Linked DNA regions of Homo sapiens: regions 2, 3 and 4 are each linked to region 1. Evidence: promoter capture Hi-C in human tissues and cell types (Jung and others, 2019). All regions are on one chromosome and are shown on one strand. Each heading gives the region's core, a stretch centred on a gene start or on the middle of the fragment in contact. The rest is flanking DNA. Distances are from core to core; before and after follow the strand shown. Region 1 holds the start of APH1B (aph-1B gamma-secretase subunit). Region 2 overlaps HERC1 (HECT and RLD domain containing E3 ubiquitin protein ligase family member 1). Region 3 overlaps TLN2 (talin 2). Region 4 overlaps HERC1 (HECT and RLD domain containing E3 ubiquitin protein ligase family member 1).

Region 1 (3,521 bases), core at 768-3,267:
GCCAGGAGTTCGAGACTGGCCTGGCCAACATTGTTCACACTGTCTCTACTAAAATACGAAAATAACCCAGGCATGGTGGCGCGTGCCTATAGTCCCAGCTACTCTGGAGGCTGAGGCAGGATAATTGCTTGAACTCGGGAGGCAGAGGTTGCAGTGAGCTGAGATCACACCACTGCACTCCAGCCTGGGCGACAGAGTGAGACTATGTCTCCAAAACAGTAACAACAAAATAACAAAATGGTACTCATTATCGTGTCTACTTTGCCATATTCTCTCCTCCTCCTGTCTCCACAGCATCCACTTAAGCCCGAACCCTCTAGAAGCCCTCATCCTTGACTCTTCCCCCATCTCACTCTATGTAGCTCATTAGTCACTAAATTCTGTTTGTACAATTCCTAAACTTCTATTAAATTTGTCTGCTTCCCTCCAGAGTCCTGCTAATTCCCTGAATCAGGCCACTGCCATCTCATGCCTGCGTTGCACTGAGGACCTCCAGTCTGGAAGCTCATTTTCCATATCTTTACAAAGCAGATCTATCACTCTGAACTGTTGTCTCGACCCGAGTTTTGATAGGTATTGTGCTGGGATCTGACCATTCAAAATACAATCACTGGAATCTGAAGAAGTATTCTGTGGGAGTGAATGGAAATATATATGACTTTTAAATGGGCAAAGGTAATGTTTTTCTGTAAGAATTAAATACCTGCAGTTGTATTATTTGAAGGTGCATTTTCAGGGGCGAGCTGCAAAACATCTGTCAGGTCCCAACATTTGTCTACTGGTGTTTTTTTAAATGTGGATTGCCAAAATCTTTATTCATGATGGACATTATGTAGGAGTGGTTAATACTTACATAGCACTTACCTGTGTCAGGCACACTGATCAAAATAACCGACGAAGTATTATTCAACATAAAGAAAAATCTAACTTGGATGTGAATGATCAGAGAACTTAAGTTTTAATTTTTAAACCTTTCAGAAATTGTTAATATAGATGTTTATAACTTCCACCTTTTAAATTATTTCACTTATTGAACAGATATTAGTGAACTTCTAGGTGCTGAGGAAACAACAAAGAGCAAAGCAAAGTCCCTGTCCCCCAGGAGTTCGCGTTTTAACGGGGAAGAAAAATAAGCAAGTGAAATGGACGACTGTGAGAAGACGGAGCAGGGAGATGTTACTATTGCTTGTAGGGTGGTCACAGAATGCCTGCAAAAACAACCCTTTTGAAGAATTGGGAAAAAAATAAAAACCATTTGGCTGAAACAGCCCTGAGAAGGGCAGCTTCTTCCACCACTCTTTCATCATTTTACCATCTGTGGGTTATCCCCGGGGTCACTGCTATCCCAGCCTAGGTTTTATACAGGATGGAGTACGAAGTTCCCGCAACTATCCAAACGGTAAAATGTGCTTAAAAAAAAAAAAAAACCTATTTAAAAAGGAATCCTGCTTGTTCCTGCGCTACATTTTTGTTTAGTCTCTTTGGTTGACTTGGAATCTCTGCCTGTTCTCGGTGCATGCGGCTCGAAGGTGGGCTAGGGAGCTTCCCTTCTCTTAACCACCTCGCGGCCGGCACTGGAACCCGATCGGAGTGTATCTGTGGGGCTGCGGCGATGGCTGGGGCCCTAACGTCGCCGAGGACGCCCGCCTCGGGAGCAGGAGCTGCGGCGTGGCCCTGGCGCTTCCGGACACCCGGTAGGGCGGAGGGCCCAACGGTGGGGTCCGCGCTCACCGCCTTGAGCCCGCCCCTGCGCCCGGCGCCCTCAGCCCACGCCCCGCCCAGTCCCCCAGGCCCTAGCGTTTACCCCCACGCCCCGCCTCGCCCCGCGACCCACGTACCCCGCCTCCGAGCCCCGCCCCCGCCCCCACGTGCCCCGCCCCCGAGCCCCGCCCCCGTCCCCGTGCCTGCCCATGAGCCGCGCCCCGCCCCCCGCGTCCCGCTTAGCCCCCCACCCCGAGCCCCACCCACCGAACCCCGCCCGCGCCGGGAGCATCTCGCGTCCCCAACGGGCCCCCGGGTCGGTTTCCGCGGTGGCCATGACTGCGGCCGTGTTCTTCGGCTGCGCCTTCATTGCCTTCGGGCCTGCGCTCGCCCTTTATGTCTTCACCATCGCCACCGAGCCGTTGCGTATCATCTTCCTCATCGCCGGGTGAGGCGGTCGCGTCGGGAAACCCGGACGCCGGGGCTCCCCTCCCCCGCTGGGGTTACCCGCGACCCTCGGCGCCCCCACCGCGCGGCTCGACCTTGTTGCGTTTCAGACGGGAGGAGGGTTGAGAGGGGGAGAGCGGAGATCCGGCTCCCCAAAGGCGCCTCGCCCTCTTAGGAAGAAGCGCACACTGGGGGTCAGGGCCTTTTGCCTGGGGCTCATGGGTGGGGTTTAGTGATCCGTGAAGCTACTAAAGTTGTATAAAAAAATTATGGATAAGTTCATATATGCATCCTTCATTTTCTGGAGGGGGAGTCCCTAATTTCCCTCAGATTCTCAAAGGCATGTGTAATCCCCAAAGGGTTAAAAACCATTGGCGTTTAGGATAGTAGTGCGCGACTTCCGCCTATTAGAATCACCTGTGGCCAGGTGCTTTAAAACATGCCGATGCCCACCCCCACCCCGATCCATTGAATCAGAATGTCTAGGGGATGGGATTCGGGCTTCAGAAAAAAAAAAAAAAATTTAAGCTCCTTTTGGATGGTTCCGTTGTGCAGCCGAAGGGTGGAAACCTGTAAAAACACCGAAGCACCTGACTGTGCGTCTCCTTCTGGGAGCTTGGTAAATACCGGACTCTGGTGTCCCATCGCAGTCATCACCTGCCTCTTACTTGCACATACCACATCCCCCCTCCTCTGATGAGTCTCTCTTGGCACCAGACTAGGCCAATGATTCCCGCTTTTCTGCGTTTCTTCACCTCCCACAAACGTATTGAAAGTGCTTCGCTGCATGTCATTTTAAAAATAATAGAGATTTGGGAAGGGTCTGTAAAGCTTGCTATAATCATTAGAATCCCCAGGGGTGCTGTAAGACCTGGAGGGCTTGGATACTGATCCAGATCAGAACACAGGTTTTCAAGTTGAATTTTATACCAGTCACTTTATTAATAGAGATGTAGATATTTTTCTGGAAAAGATACTCATCTTTGCAGATATCTGATCAGTAAATCCATAATTTCTTGTAAGTTTTAAGAATATGAAAATTGCAGTAATCAGGGTTGTGTATTTTCTTGTTTTGGCTCATCAATGGGCAGAGCATTGATTAGAAAGAGTAGCAAATAACCAAGTTTCTAGCTAGATAGTCCTTGGCAGATAGAGTCTGCAGATGTACTTGCAAGTAGCAGGGTCATTGAAAAAAGTAATTGTTGGGAAACCTCAGCCTTCCTCTTGGACACGTTTGTCTCACCAAGGAAAATGCACCGTTAAGAACAACTGATCAGAGTATCACTTTATGAGGACTTTCTTTTCCTTATTGAAACGTCAAGAAATCTCTTCCTTCTCAAGCAGGTTTTTTTTTTTTTCCTGCTTTTAAACAT
Region 2 (3,988 bases), core at 6-2,505, 400 kb after region 1:
TGCTTGTGAATGGGTGTCGGTACCTCTCCATTTTTCCCAAAAGAAATGGTCCTGGCTTCCATGTCTAACACACAGGTAATGAAATCTCCTTGAGTAAAGCTGGACAATGTGAGAGTCTGTTCTCCATTGTGATAGAGGTTACCACTGTAGGCCCTATAGAGCCACATATCCGAGGTAGTGCGGTGATTAAAGTCATGTACTGGCCAGCGAGAAACTCCAACACACGTGCCTTCATTACCTCTGTTTTCCTTCACAATATAAAACTAAAATAAAAGTGGGATATTCATTAATACTCAAAAAATCTATTTATATACTATTAACTGCATTAACCAATACTGAAAATATGTTTATAAATAATACTAATGCATTTATGGAAACATGTTATTTTCAGCATAAATAAAAATAACACGAAAATAATCGCATCAATTTAGAAAGATTTTAAAACATTCTTTATCTTGCAGGGCATTTAGAATAACCTTTGAATATCTATAGTATTTAAAATAAGCAATTCTAACTTACAACTTAATAATGAAGCTGAGGAAGTATGTTTAGTCCAGAAATTAATGAAAACTTTAATTCTTTACATATAGATTTTAACTACTCTCTTGCATATACCTCTGTTTAGAAAAAGAGTTAATATATTAAGCCTGAGACTAGGTGTATTGTTTTGTTTTGTTTTGTTTTGTTTTGTTTTTAATTTTCTAAAGAGATGGGGTCTCACTCTGTTTCCCAGGCTGGAGTACAGTAGCATGATCATGGCTCACTGAAGCGTCAAATTCCTGGGCTCAAGCAATTCTCCTGCCTCAGTCTCCTGAGTAACTAGGACTACAGGTGTACACCATCATGCCTGGCTAGTTATTTTTTGTAGAGATGAGGTCTTGTTATGTTACACAGTCTGGTCTTGAACTCCTGGCCTCAAGCAATCCTCCCACCTCGGCCTCCCAAAGTGTTGGGATTATAGGCATCAGCCACTACACCTAGTGTGACTATTACTATTTTCAAAAAGGCATGCTTGCAACACTGGCCTTTGGCTAGGACCTGGGAATTTGACTGGTAAAGTTTCTTACACTGATTTAAAAAAAAAAAAACTTCCCCTACGTGATAAAGGTGGCTCACTGACCTAGAACATTTAAACACACAATGTGGTTTATGCTGAATACCTGCTCTCCTTCTGGGAGTATGAAATGTTGGTACATGTCAGGTTGAAGGTGTCTACGTGACCAGCCCCCAGTAAAAACCTTGGGTTCTGAATCTCTAATGGGGTTCTCTAGAAACATCACACACATGTTATTTTTCTTGCTGGGGAAAGCTTGTGCACTTGTGCTCATGGCAGGGAGAGAACAGAAGGAAGCCTACAGGATTCTTCTATACCTCACCTGTGTCCTTCCCTTATTAACTGGGTGTATATCCTTACCGCATCATTATAATATAAGTCTCCGTCATGAGTGTATCAACGTGTGGAGTCTGACGAGTCCTTCTAGTGAATCTCTGAATGTGAGGGTGGTCTTGGGGACTCATGACTTAGCAGTGGCAGCAATGAGATTCACTAGAACAACCCTGATGCATTAGAATATAGTTAAATATTGCTGGGGAAAAAGAAAGAGACGAAAGGAAAAGATAAAACTCTGGTACCTAGGTGGCTATGGAGTTACACATAGTATGAAACAGAAGGTGGACTGCTATCTGTTGTGAGGGGCAAAAGTTACCTATCAATTTTTAAGATAAATCCAATCACAAGAGAGTTGGTTTGCTACCCCAGACGCTCTTGGCCTTGCTAGCTAAAGTTAGGAAAAAAGAGCAGCTCAGGTAAAAACTGTGCTGTTCTTTCTTCCAGGAACAACTTCTTTCCTGAGGAGAAAGGGCCCAAATATTCCCACAAGTGGGCTTTAGATGAGCCAGAGTAGAAAAATTAGCTTGTAGTTGCTCTCTCCTCCAGTGGGAGGGGAAAGGGTTCAAAAACCCCTGACAGCTTTGAGTGTGGGTGCAGGGGCTCACACCTGTAATCTTAGCACTTTGGGAGGCTAAGGAGGGAGGACTGCTTGAAGCCAGGAGTTTGAGACTACCTTGGGCAAGAAAGCAAGAACCCCATCTCTACAAAATATACAAAAACAAACAAACAAGAATAGAAAGGAACTACTCCAGCTATTTTCTTAAGCTGAGCTTTTGCTATTGCTACAGCAGGTTCTCCCCCTGCCACAATTTACCTTGTAAATGCTAAATTTATTGCTAGAGGTTTGAGTAAACTTAAGATGTGAGAAGGGAGGAAGAAAACTTTTAAAAACAGCTTTATTTTGTGGCAACTACATCTGGATGTATGATTAAAAAAAAAAAAGATGCAAAGGCTGGGCACAATGGCTCATGCCTGTTATTTCAGCATTTTGGGAGGCCGAGGCAGGCAGATCACTTGAGGTTGGGAGTTCAAGTCCAGCCTGGCCAACATGGTGAAACCTTATATCTACTAAAAACACAAAAATTAGCCAGGCATGCTGATGCGTGCCTCCAGTCTCACCTATTCGGGAGGCTGAGGCGGGAGAATCCCTTGAAACTGGCAGGTGGAGGTTGCAGGGAGCCGAGCTTGTGCCACTGCACTCCAGCCTGGGCAACAGAGCTACACTCTGTCTCAAAAAAAAAAAAAAAAAAAGAAAGAAAAAAAATTAAGATGCAAAATGTTACAAGCTTGTAACTTCATAAATGCTAAAGTTTCATCCTGATCAGGGAAAGCTCCAAAAGAAAAACATACTAGTGGGACACAACTTACTTGCTTTTTGTCACCAGTGGGTGGATTGGAATTTAAACTCTATATTAAAAACAAAACAAGTGTCTATAACTGGTGGGTTTTTGCTATGATTTTTTCCTATTGGAGTCTCTGGGAAAACAGAGATAAAATAAAAGAGAGGCAAGCTCTAGATGGAGATATAGACATATGCTTTTAGAGTTTTAAAAAACATTCAGTGGCTAACGAGTTCTTATAAAATCATATGTCTAACACTTACAGGCTGATGACTTTCTAGCCTAAGTACATATTTCTGAGTGGGTCAATCTGGACTCCAAGATTGACAAGCAAACAGAGCTTAGAAAAGCCTTGTTTTCAAGCCTGGACTTAAAACACTATTGTCAGGTCCTACACCATCTAAGGTTTGTTTTTGTTTTTAAGAGATAGGGTCTCTTTCTGTTACCCAGGCTGGCATGCAGTAGTGTAAACAGAGCTCACTGTGGCTTCAAACTCCTGGGCTCAAGCAATCCTCCAGCCTCTGCCTTCCAAGTACTGGGACTGTATAGGCACATGCCCCCATAACTGGCCCCATCTAGATTTAACTGCTGCCCCAAAAAGCTGCTGGCTTGGAATCCTGAACTCACACATTCTAATTGCCTGGACCTGACTATAAGCTAAAACCTGACACTGTGTGCTCTAGGTTATTTCAACCCAAGTGAGTTGTGCTCAGCTAAAAGCAGGCACAAGCTGAATGAACAAAACTCAAAATCTGGGACTGTTGTGGATTTGGAACACTCCCCCTCTGTGGGGCCACAAAGTCTGAAAAACATCTTGGATGCTGGCTGGACTGTCCAGGTTTCTTGCAGGTATCCACGAAAAGAGTGTGTTTTCTGGGGGCAATATACTTCCAAACACTCTTTAAGAGATTGTATTCTCAATACCCTCTAGGTGATGTCCCAACATGTTAAGCTTTCTAGAATAGTTGCAGTTTGCAACAAGGGACTGATCAATTGACTCTACATCCCTCACCTTTCTCCTGATAAACAAGACACACCAATAAAGCAGTTTACTAAATAAAACTGTTCCCAGAAAGAAACTGATCTTTTCCAGACTGCCCACTGGATAAATGATTAGGACGAAAGATGTAGAAGGTTTTATAAACCTATTTTGAAAAAAATAAACTGTAACTGAAATTTTGTCCTGGCCAATTCCTAACCTTTCTGGTTAAGTTGTATGCAAATGTTTTTGTGTGAAAACTCTTCCTCTTGCATCCAA
Region 3 (4,063 bases), core at 81-2,580, 450 kb before region 1:
TCATAATCTTTAAAAGATTATTTTAGCGGGTCTTTACATGATCCAATTGTGGAAAGAATGAAACACCCAGAAGCGAGGATTCCGTTATCCCCTTTATAAACCAGAAGGAGAGATCTGACTGACCCTGGTCAGGTCAGTAACATCTCAGCTAAAGAGGGCCTTAAGACACCAACCAGGTGAGCCTCTCTGGTGAGAAGGTGAGAATGAGAGCTCCAGGAGAGGGCCCAGCCTGCAGATTCTTCCCCGGAGTCACTGTGCACCATGTTGTTCTTCTTAGTCTCCCCAGTCTCTCAGCTGCAGTGGGGACTGTTCCATTAACAAATTCTGCATTTTAATTGGGATTCTTTTATTTAGGAAAGTCCTTTGAAGACCAAGCCAATTCTGTTTCCTTCTTGTGATATGGTTAAGTGTGTGTCCTTCCTACCTTCTCCCCTATTCCATTCTGCATGCTAATGGGAGCTGGAACTGATGGGGCACCTGGGTTTTTGACCATGTCTCCTTGGCTTGGAGAGATGCCATTTTCTCTAAGGCTAGAAGTTGTATGGTATGAGGACACGTTAAGTATTGGTGTCTGATTTCAGCAGTAGAGGTAGGGTGGGCAGTGCGTCTTAGTCATAAACCTGGCATACAGGAAAATAGGGACACAGCAGTCAGAAGGCAGGTTTCATCAGGGTACTCTGCCCAAACTGTAGTATCTAACATTAGCCCTCCATCCCTGTGCCATCCCAGTCAGCCTTTCTAGGGAGAATCTTAATACTTTCTTATCAGAGCAAATGTCTCCCAGAGATAAGAACTTCTGCCGTATCTGTTTTAAAGCATAGAGATGTTGTGGGAAGAAAAATAAAAATTCGTCAAAGAACATTACAACAGTTGCCATTACCAGAAAAATCTGTGGGTGTCAAAAATATTTCCAAGTTGAATATCTATTATTACAAGCTTGTGTTTAAAAAAAAAAAAAACTCCAGGCAGCGGAAGATGTGGGAGAGGCTCGTAAAATCAGTTGTGATGAGATGATCCTATCAGATCTACCCCTGCTAAAGACGTAGCACTTAATTTTAAAGAAATTCCATTTTTGAAAATCTTAAAATTTGGGAAATAAAAAGTCTGACAGAGTATTCCACACTGTAAAGTGGACTCGGGCGTGGAACCCATAGAGTAGCTGAGGACACCTGAGGCAAGAGCGTGAGAGACTTCAGGAGCCGCCATGAAGAGCTCCCACAAGCCTCCGTTTCCTCATCTGCAAAATGAGATGAGGAGTTTGGAGTCAAAAATTCTGTGATTTCCCTGGTGCTTTAATCTGTTATGTGCCTGACATTCTTTGGCAGAATGAATTTCCAGAAAAGCTCTTAATCTCACGGTTATTAAAATATACATTATTTATATATTTAATATATATAAATTAGAGCCTACTATAATTTATTTGGGGACTGACTACACAAGAGTTCCTTTTATACGAGAGTGTCTTACAATGGATCATTTCCGTATTTCAGTCACCAAATTCTATACTCCACCAGTCCAAAATGAGTCCAGTAGAACTAAATTCATGTCTGTCCTGAATACTCTTAGAGCAAGACTTGGTCAGCAATAAGAAAGAATGCACAAGTCTGTCTCAGAACTTCTGAAATGCTACCATCATTCAGATCCATTAGAAGTGCATTGAAATTGTATTTTGATAATGTAGGTTATAAAGAAAAAGGATTAGCACCTTTCATGGTTCAAGATGTGGCATTATGAATGGAGAGCTGGAGAAGACTTGTATCCCTCCTGTCTGACGTTTCACATGGGAGCGTTAGCAAGCTGACTTTGAACCTCTGGCACAAACCGTTTCTCACTGATGCCCCAAGGGGTGGCTTTGGCTAGTTAAAGTGCCTCATTTTGGAGTCAGATTTAGGTTTAGATTCTGGTTTAGATGCTTCATGCTGCCACATCACCTTGGCCCAATCATCTACCTTCCTGAGCCTGGGTTTTCTCACTGTAAAAATAAGGATAAAGATAATTCCAATATACGATCTTTTTTTTTTTTTTTGGTGAGAATTAAGTCATTGTATGTAGAAGTGCCTAACAAAATACTTGGTACACAGTAGGCACTCTTAAAAATCTACTACTGTTGGCACAAAGTGTGAATGTCCGTAATGCCACTGAATTGTACACTTAAAATTGGATAAAAGGGTAAGTTTTGTGTTACATATATTTTACCACACATACAGAGAAAAGTATTGCTGGGCCTGGCCATCATCTCTCAATGCCTGAAAGGTACCACCCACATCTTCAACACTGTGTGACCTGAGGGCAGCTTAACCAAATTGACCTAGAGTCACGGAATGTTGTCACACAGGTCTAATCTGACCACCCCCCGGCAAAACTGTGATGCTCCAACCCATGAGCCTGGGACCACAGTCTTTATACTTGTTCCACTTCTCCAAAGCTTCTTTTCAACTTCCTGAGTTGTTTTAGCAGCAAAGGAGATGGTGGTGAATTTAGACCAGAACCCTAATGGTCTGATAACACCTACACAGTGGTGTCCAGTGTTCTTCCCAAGGTGGATCCCGTGCCTCGGGTGTCCAGAGGACAGAACAAGCTCCACCTTGATGTCGTGTTGCCCTGGTTTCTTTTTCACCACTGGGCAATGTGTGCTTGGTCTATAACTCTCTCAGTGCTCAGCCACAGAAATGCCAGTGCTGTTTGGCTTTGATTTTTACCCAGGAAAAAGACAACTTTTCAGAACTGGTAGCCATCTTTCCTTTTTTTTTTTTTAAAGTCCATTTTTGAGGCTTAGGCTCTAGAAGAGAGTAAGTGCTATGATCTACTGTTTTGATTTTATTATTTTGGTTTCAGTTATTGATGTTGCTAAAACCATTTGAGTGTATTTTGTTCACAGTGAGTGTATATCTTTAAAGATTTTGTTCCAGAAAATGAGTCTGTCTGCAAATTTCCGTGGGATGTCAAGCTAACGGCTTTTTCCTTTTGGAGTTAGGGGGAAGGGGCTGCAGGTGGAGAGGCATCCTGACCTTTCTATCCTGGTATTGCTGTTGTACAACAGTGTCAGTGTATTAATACTTAACATTAGGTAAAAGGGTAAATTTTGTGTTATATATATTGTACCACACATACAAAGAAAACTATTGCTGTGCCTGGCCATTGTCTCTTAATGCCTGAAAGGTACCAGCCACATCTTCCACACTGTGACCCGAGGGTGGCTTAACCAAACTGACTTAAGAGTCCTGAAAGTTTGCACAGGGGACCTGTCATCTGCTTCTTGTTAAGGAACCATCCCATTTCAGGTGTGGTTTGTCAACAAAAAACAATAGGCAGGTGAAGAGCCAGGTGACCCGGCAGTAAGTAGTTTGGAAGAAAGAGCCCTTTGTGGATATGAATTGAATGTGATGCTGTTTTCTTTTGGTTATAGCAAGCGGATGAGACCCTGGACTTTGAGGAACAGATCTTGGAAGCTGCTAAATCCATTGCTGCTGCCACAAGCGCCCTGGTCAAATCGGCCTCAGCAGCCCAGAGGGAGCTGGTGGCCCAAGGAAAGGTGGGTAAAGCCGCTGACCACATGCGGGACACTCAACGTACGAGAGCCTCAGGGGGCCCAGGAAAAGAGCTACAAGCTTTTGTCCTGACCAAGGAAACACATGCAGTGCCTTCCCTCCCTGAATTGCCACTCTCTGTGCTGACCGACTGAAAACTACAGCCTTCAGACCAACAGAATAAGAGGTTTGGCTTCTGGGCCTCTCATCTGCTTCTTGTTAAGGAAAGCATCCCATTCCAGGCAGTGACTGGGGCCTGAACGAGATATTTATATTCCCACTGTACATTAGGCTACGTAAAGATGTAAACTGTCATATTTTCCTGGTGGGCCGCTCTAGAAGCACCGCATTCGGCGGCTTTTATGATACCACTTTCCAGCTCCAAAGGGTTCCGTTTGTTTTTAGGACTGTCGAGCTGAATACTGGCCAGCTTCGCAGTTAGCACTTTCCTAAGTCTGCTGGTGAATGGGCCAGTCAGATTTTAAATCTGAAATTTCTTCAGCTTTATCTCTAGTCACCCATTCCATCTACTTTGG
Region 4 (3,685 bases), core at 819-3,318, 340 kb after region 1:
TTTAAAAAGTCTAAGAATCTGAATAGGGACCATACCTTAAGGAAGTGAGTAACTATGTGAGGTGATGGATATGTTAATTTGCTTCACTATAATAACCTTTTTACTATCTATATGCATATCCTATATTATCGTGTTGTACACCTTAAATATACATAATAAAATTTATTATATATATAAAAAAAAACTGGGCCAAGTACAATGGTTTGCCCTGTCATCCCAGCTACTTGGAAGGCTAAGGCAGGAGATCCCTTGAGCCCAACAGTTCAAAGCTGCAGTGAGTGCCACTGCACTCCAGCCTGGGTGACAGAGCAAGACCCTCTCTTAAAAAATAAAATAATAAAAAACTGGCACTAAGGTTGTCCCATAAGGATCAGAGATTGGCAGTAAAGGCAGTCTCTTCTGATAGTAAAGGTCAATACCCCACCAAAGTCTGCCAAACGAAAACAAAAACGAACAAGCTGTTATGCTTGGTGGAACACAAAACAAAAGCTGTCTGGAAAAAAAATTAGGCTGAGGTATGGGGCTGGCTGCTTGGAGATGGCAGGGGGACAACTGAGGACAGTTATGGGATAAACACTCAGTTCTAAGAGATGAAGAGGAACCAAAGACCAATTCATATATAAAGAAAGAGGAGGAAGGGCTTGTTACTGAGAACAGAACAAAGCCAGGGCAGAGCAGAACACAGCTGTGGAAAGGGAGTGTCCATCCAACCCTCAGAAGAAGGGTCATCAGAAAAGCCTGGACACCATCTTAGAGCCTGGTTTGGGGTCTTGGCTCTGCTGTGGGCACTCAGTGCTTTCTTCTGTGAAACAGAGCTGGCAATCCTTACCTCACAGAGTAACTATGGGAAAAATGGCACCCAAGAGTGCCTGGCACCATGGCTGGCGTGCAGAAGGTTATCAATACATTTCTAGTCAGTTATTTATTCTCTGAGGATTAAAAATATTCATCAACTGGAGACAAACACTAATCCCTGGCTGTGTAAATAGCATCACTGACAAGACCCAACTTCACTAGGCTAAAGATATCATTTTTCTGATGGGACTTGGCCCAAAGTCTAAGAAGGAGCTGGGAGTGAGGGGTATGGAGTATGTATACTTCAAATCACTAAACTTCTATAGCTTCACAGCCTGAGTCCAGCTCTTGAGAAGACCCCAACATATTCTGCAAATAAAGTATTACTGAAATGCTATTAATGACTGTATTATCAAAAGAACCATTTTTGGACACCATATTTATGACCACATGAGTGGTCACTCATTCACACTCCCATTATTAAATGCTTACTTACCTGTCAGCACAGAACAAGGATAACTCAAATGAAATAGAAAATGCATTCTTCATTCAATTTCTTGCAAGTTGAGGAAACAAGACCTAAATTCTGGGGCCTACTTCCTAGACCATAACATAGAAGTATGTGATATATCTTGAGGAACTTCAAAGTAAGGAAAAAGATCACAGGTTGGTGACCTGGAGGTAAGCTTGTGTGTGCAGGAGATGCCCTCTTAGCTGAGGCTTAAAGAACAGCAGCAAGACAGGGAAAGGGAAATCCATGTGAGGTCATAAGACCAGCATTTGAAGGTTCATTTACGTGGGCCCTGACTAACCCAACTAGAGTGGAGACGCTGAGCTGGGAAGCAGTAAGACATGAGGACAAACAGGACTAAGGAGGAGTAAGGAGGAGTAAGAAGGCAAGGTCTGAATGCCAGATGAAAACAGTCTCAATCCAACCAAAGACCAATTCAGAACCGATTTAAGGCACTGGGTATGGAGAAAAAGGCCTGAGAAGTCTCTGAATAGGGTTTGGAATATAAATACAAAGGAATCACCAAGTGCGGTGGCTCACACCTGTAATCCCAACACTTTGGGAAGCTGAGGCAGGTGGATCACTTGAGGCCAGGAGTTCAAGACCAGCCTGGCTAACATGGCAAAACCCCATCTCTACCAAAAAATAAAAAGATTAGCTAGGCGTGGTGACACATGCCTGTAGTCCCAGCTACTGGGGAGGCTGAGGCCAGAGAATCACTTGAACCCAGGAGGCAGAGGCTGCAGTGAGCTGAGACTGAACCACTGCACTCCAGCCTAGGCGACAGAGTGAGGTGCTGTCTCAAAAATAAATAAGTAAATTAAAATAAATAAATTCATACATACATACAGAGGAATTAACACAGTAAATACATATTAGCAGATTTTGGCATACCCAGTCAGCTCTCATTTGGAGAGAAACCCAAGCATTCATGTGTACCTCCCGAGATGTTTCATCTCACCTGTCTGTCCATCTCATGAAGTCGATATTCAATGGCCCTCTCCACATATTCCTTCCTGTTGGAAAATGTGAGTGGGATACTATTTCCACCAGGGATTATAGGAACCATTTTGCCATCAGCACTCTGGCCAACAAAAGAATCAAGAGGAATCATCTAGGAACAGAAGAAAACAGAATTTTTATTACATGGTAGAAATGACAGCAAAAAGTATTTTACATACAAATACGGCACAGCAATAACAAACTCACAATTTTTAAGGATAAAAACAAGGAACACAAAACAGGTAGGACTGATCAGGCTACTTGATCAGCAGGAATGTGATGACTCAACCAGCTGTAGTTAAAAATGGGACAAAATCTCTCTGTTCACAAACCAAGCCTGTTGAACTCTCGTGACCTCAGGCCTCCCCTTCCACCTTGGTTCTTCACTCTAACAGGCAGAAAAAAATTAAGGGGGAAGGAGCAACTAAGTGCAGGAGCCTGCTCTATTAGAAGCTGTTTAAACTGCTGCGGTTGAGCTGCTAAGGGCAGCAATGGCATAGATATGGCATTGTTCAGCCAGACAGCAAGTGGAAGACTGTATCTCAATTTTACACAGAAAAATTCTAGTCTGTGCATATAGGACGTCAACACCAGTAGAAACATAGACTGGCCAGGATTTACCTCATGGAAACTCTCCTCGGTAATCCCACTGTCTTCAATGTGAAGAATGCTGTTGAGAGTCTGCACGTAGAGCAGATCCACCTCCTCCAGGTCCTCTAGGGTGAGTGGGACACAGCACAGCTGCTTCCACACCAGAGGGGCCAAGTGGAGGTCCAGAGGCTTCTTTGTGCGAATGGCAACCCCCATTAAAATTCCTAAAAACTTAAACTGCATTAAGTGTTCATCGAGGCAGGCAGAAGGGTTAAAAAGGAACCTGTAAAATTAAAGGGAATATTTCAAACAGCATTTTCCTTATTTCTATTAGAAATAAGTTAGCAACAACAGCTATAGCGTTAGTCTATACCTGTACTGTTCAATATGGCATCCATTAGCCACATAAGGCTAAAGTAATTAAATAAAACTAAAAATTCAGTTCTTCGGCTTCCCTAATCACACGTTGAGTTCTCAAAAGCCACATGTGGACCGTAGTTATTGTTTCACACAGCACATGGACTATATTCTGAACTATTTTTAGAAGAACTATGTAAGGATCTTAAGCTACCTGCTCCAGAATGCCTTGTTTTCTAAAATCATTATCTTTTTTTTTTTTTATTATTATACTTTAAGTTTTAGGGTACATGTGCACAACGTGCAGGTTTGTTACATATGTATACATGTGCCATGTTGGTGTGCTGCACCCATTAACTCTTCATTTAACATTAGGTATATCTCCTAATGCTATCCCTCCCCGCTCCCCTCACCCCACAACAGGCCCCA

The links. Contacts are between HindIII fragments. The study calls those that stand out against the background at their distance.
Region 2: a fragment that was not itself captured here is called in contact with the fragment with the promoter of APH1B in region 1 in 2 of the 25 tissues and cell types used here (adrenal gland and aorta).
Region 3: a fragment that was not itself captured here is called in contact with the fragment with the promoter of APH1B in region 1 in 2 of the 25 tissues and cell types used here (dorsolateral prefrontal cortex and mesenchymal stem cells).
Region 4: a contact is called between a fragment that was not itself captured here and the fragment with the promoter of APH1B in region 1, in 1 of the 25 tissues and cell types used here (pancreas).

What each region holds. Positions count from the first base shown.
Region 1 is chr15:63,275,588-63,279,108 of GRCh38, forward strand. It overlaps APH1B (aph-1B gamma-secretase subunit), which reads left to right and starts at 2,018. Exons shown (of 6, transcript NM_031301.4): 1 at 2,018-2,149. The coding sequence starts at 2,037. LOC124903504 (a long non-coding RNA gene) reads left to right here. Exons shown (of 2, transcript XR_007064674.1): 2 at 431-1,265. RefSeq lists silencers at 1,545-1,964, 2,045-2,324. The HindIII fragment of the contact is 12,664 bases long and covers 1-3,521 here.
Region 2 is chr15:63,680,514-63,684,501 of GRCh38, forward strand. It overlaps HERC1 (HECT and RLD domain containing E3 ubiquitin protein ligase family member 1), which reads right to left. Exons shown (of 78, transcript NM_003922.4): 35 at 24-263. Among named protein-coding and RNA genes, the nearest start is that of USP3-AS1, 82 kb to the left of the region's middle. The HindIII fragment of the contact is 3,848 bases long and covers 1-3,179 here.
Region 3 is chr15:62,830,098-62,834,160 of GRCh38, forward strand. It overlaps TLN2 (talin 2), which reads left to right. Exons shown (of 59, transcript NM_015059.3): 55 at 3,407-3,532. It overlaps LOC105370854 (a long non-coding RNA gene), which reads right to left. Exons shown (of 7, transcript XR_007064671.1): 7 at 1-4,063. Among named protein-coding and RNA genes, the nearest start is that of MIR190A, 8.2 kb to the left of the region's middle. The HindIII fragment of the contact is 3,371 bases long and covers 1-3,016 here.
Region 4 is chr15:63,613,501-63,617,185 of GRCh38, forward strand. HERC1 (HECT and RLD domain containing E3 ubiquitin protein ligase family member 1) reads right to left here. Exons shown (of 78, transcript NM_003922.4): 75 at 2,930-3,182; 76 at 2,268-2,420. Among named protein-coding and RNA genes, the nearest start is that of USP3-AS1, 15 kb to the left of the region's middle. The HindIII fragment of the contact is 3,211 bases long and covers 464-3,674 here.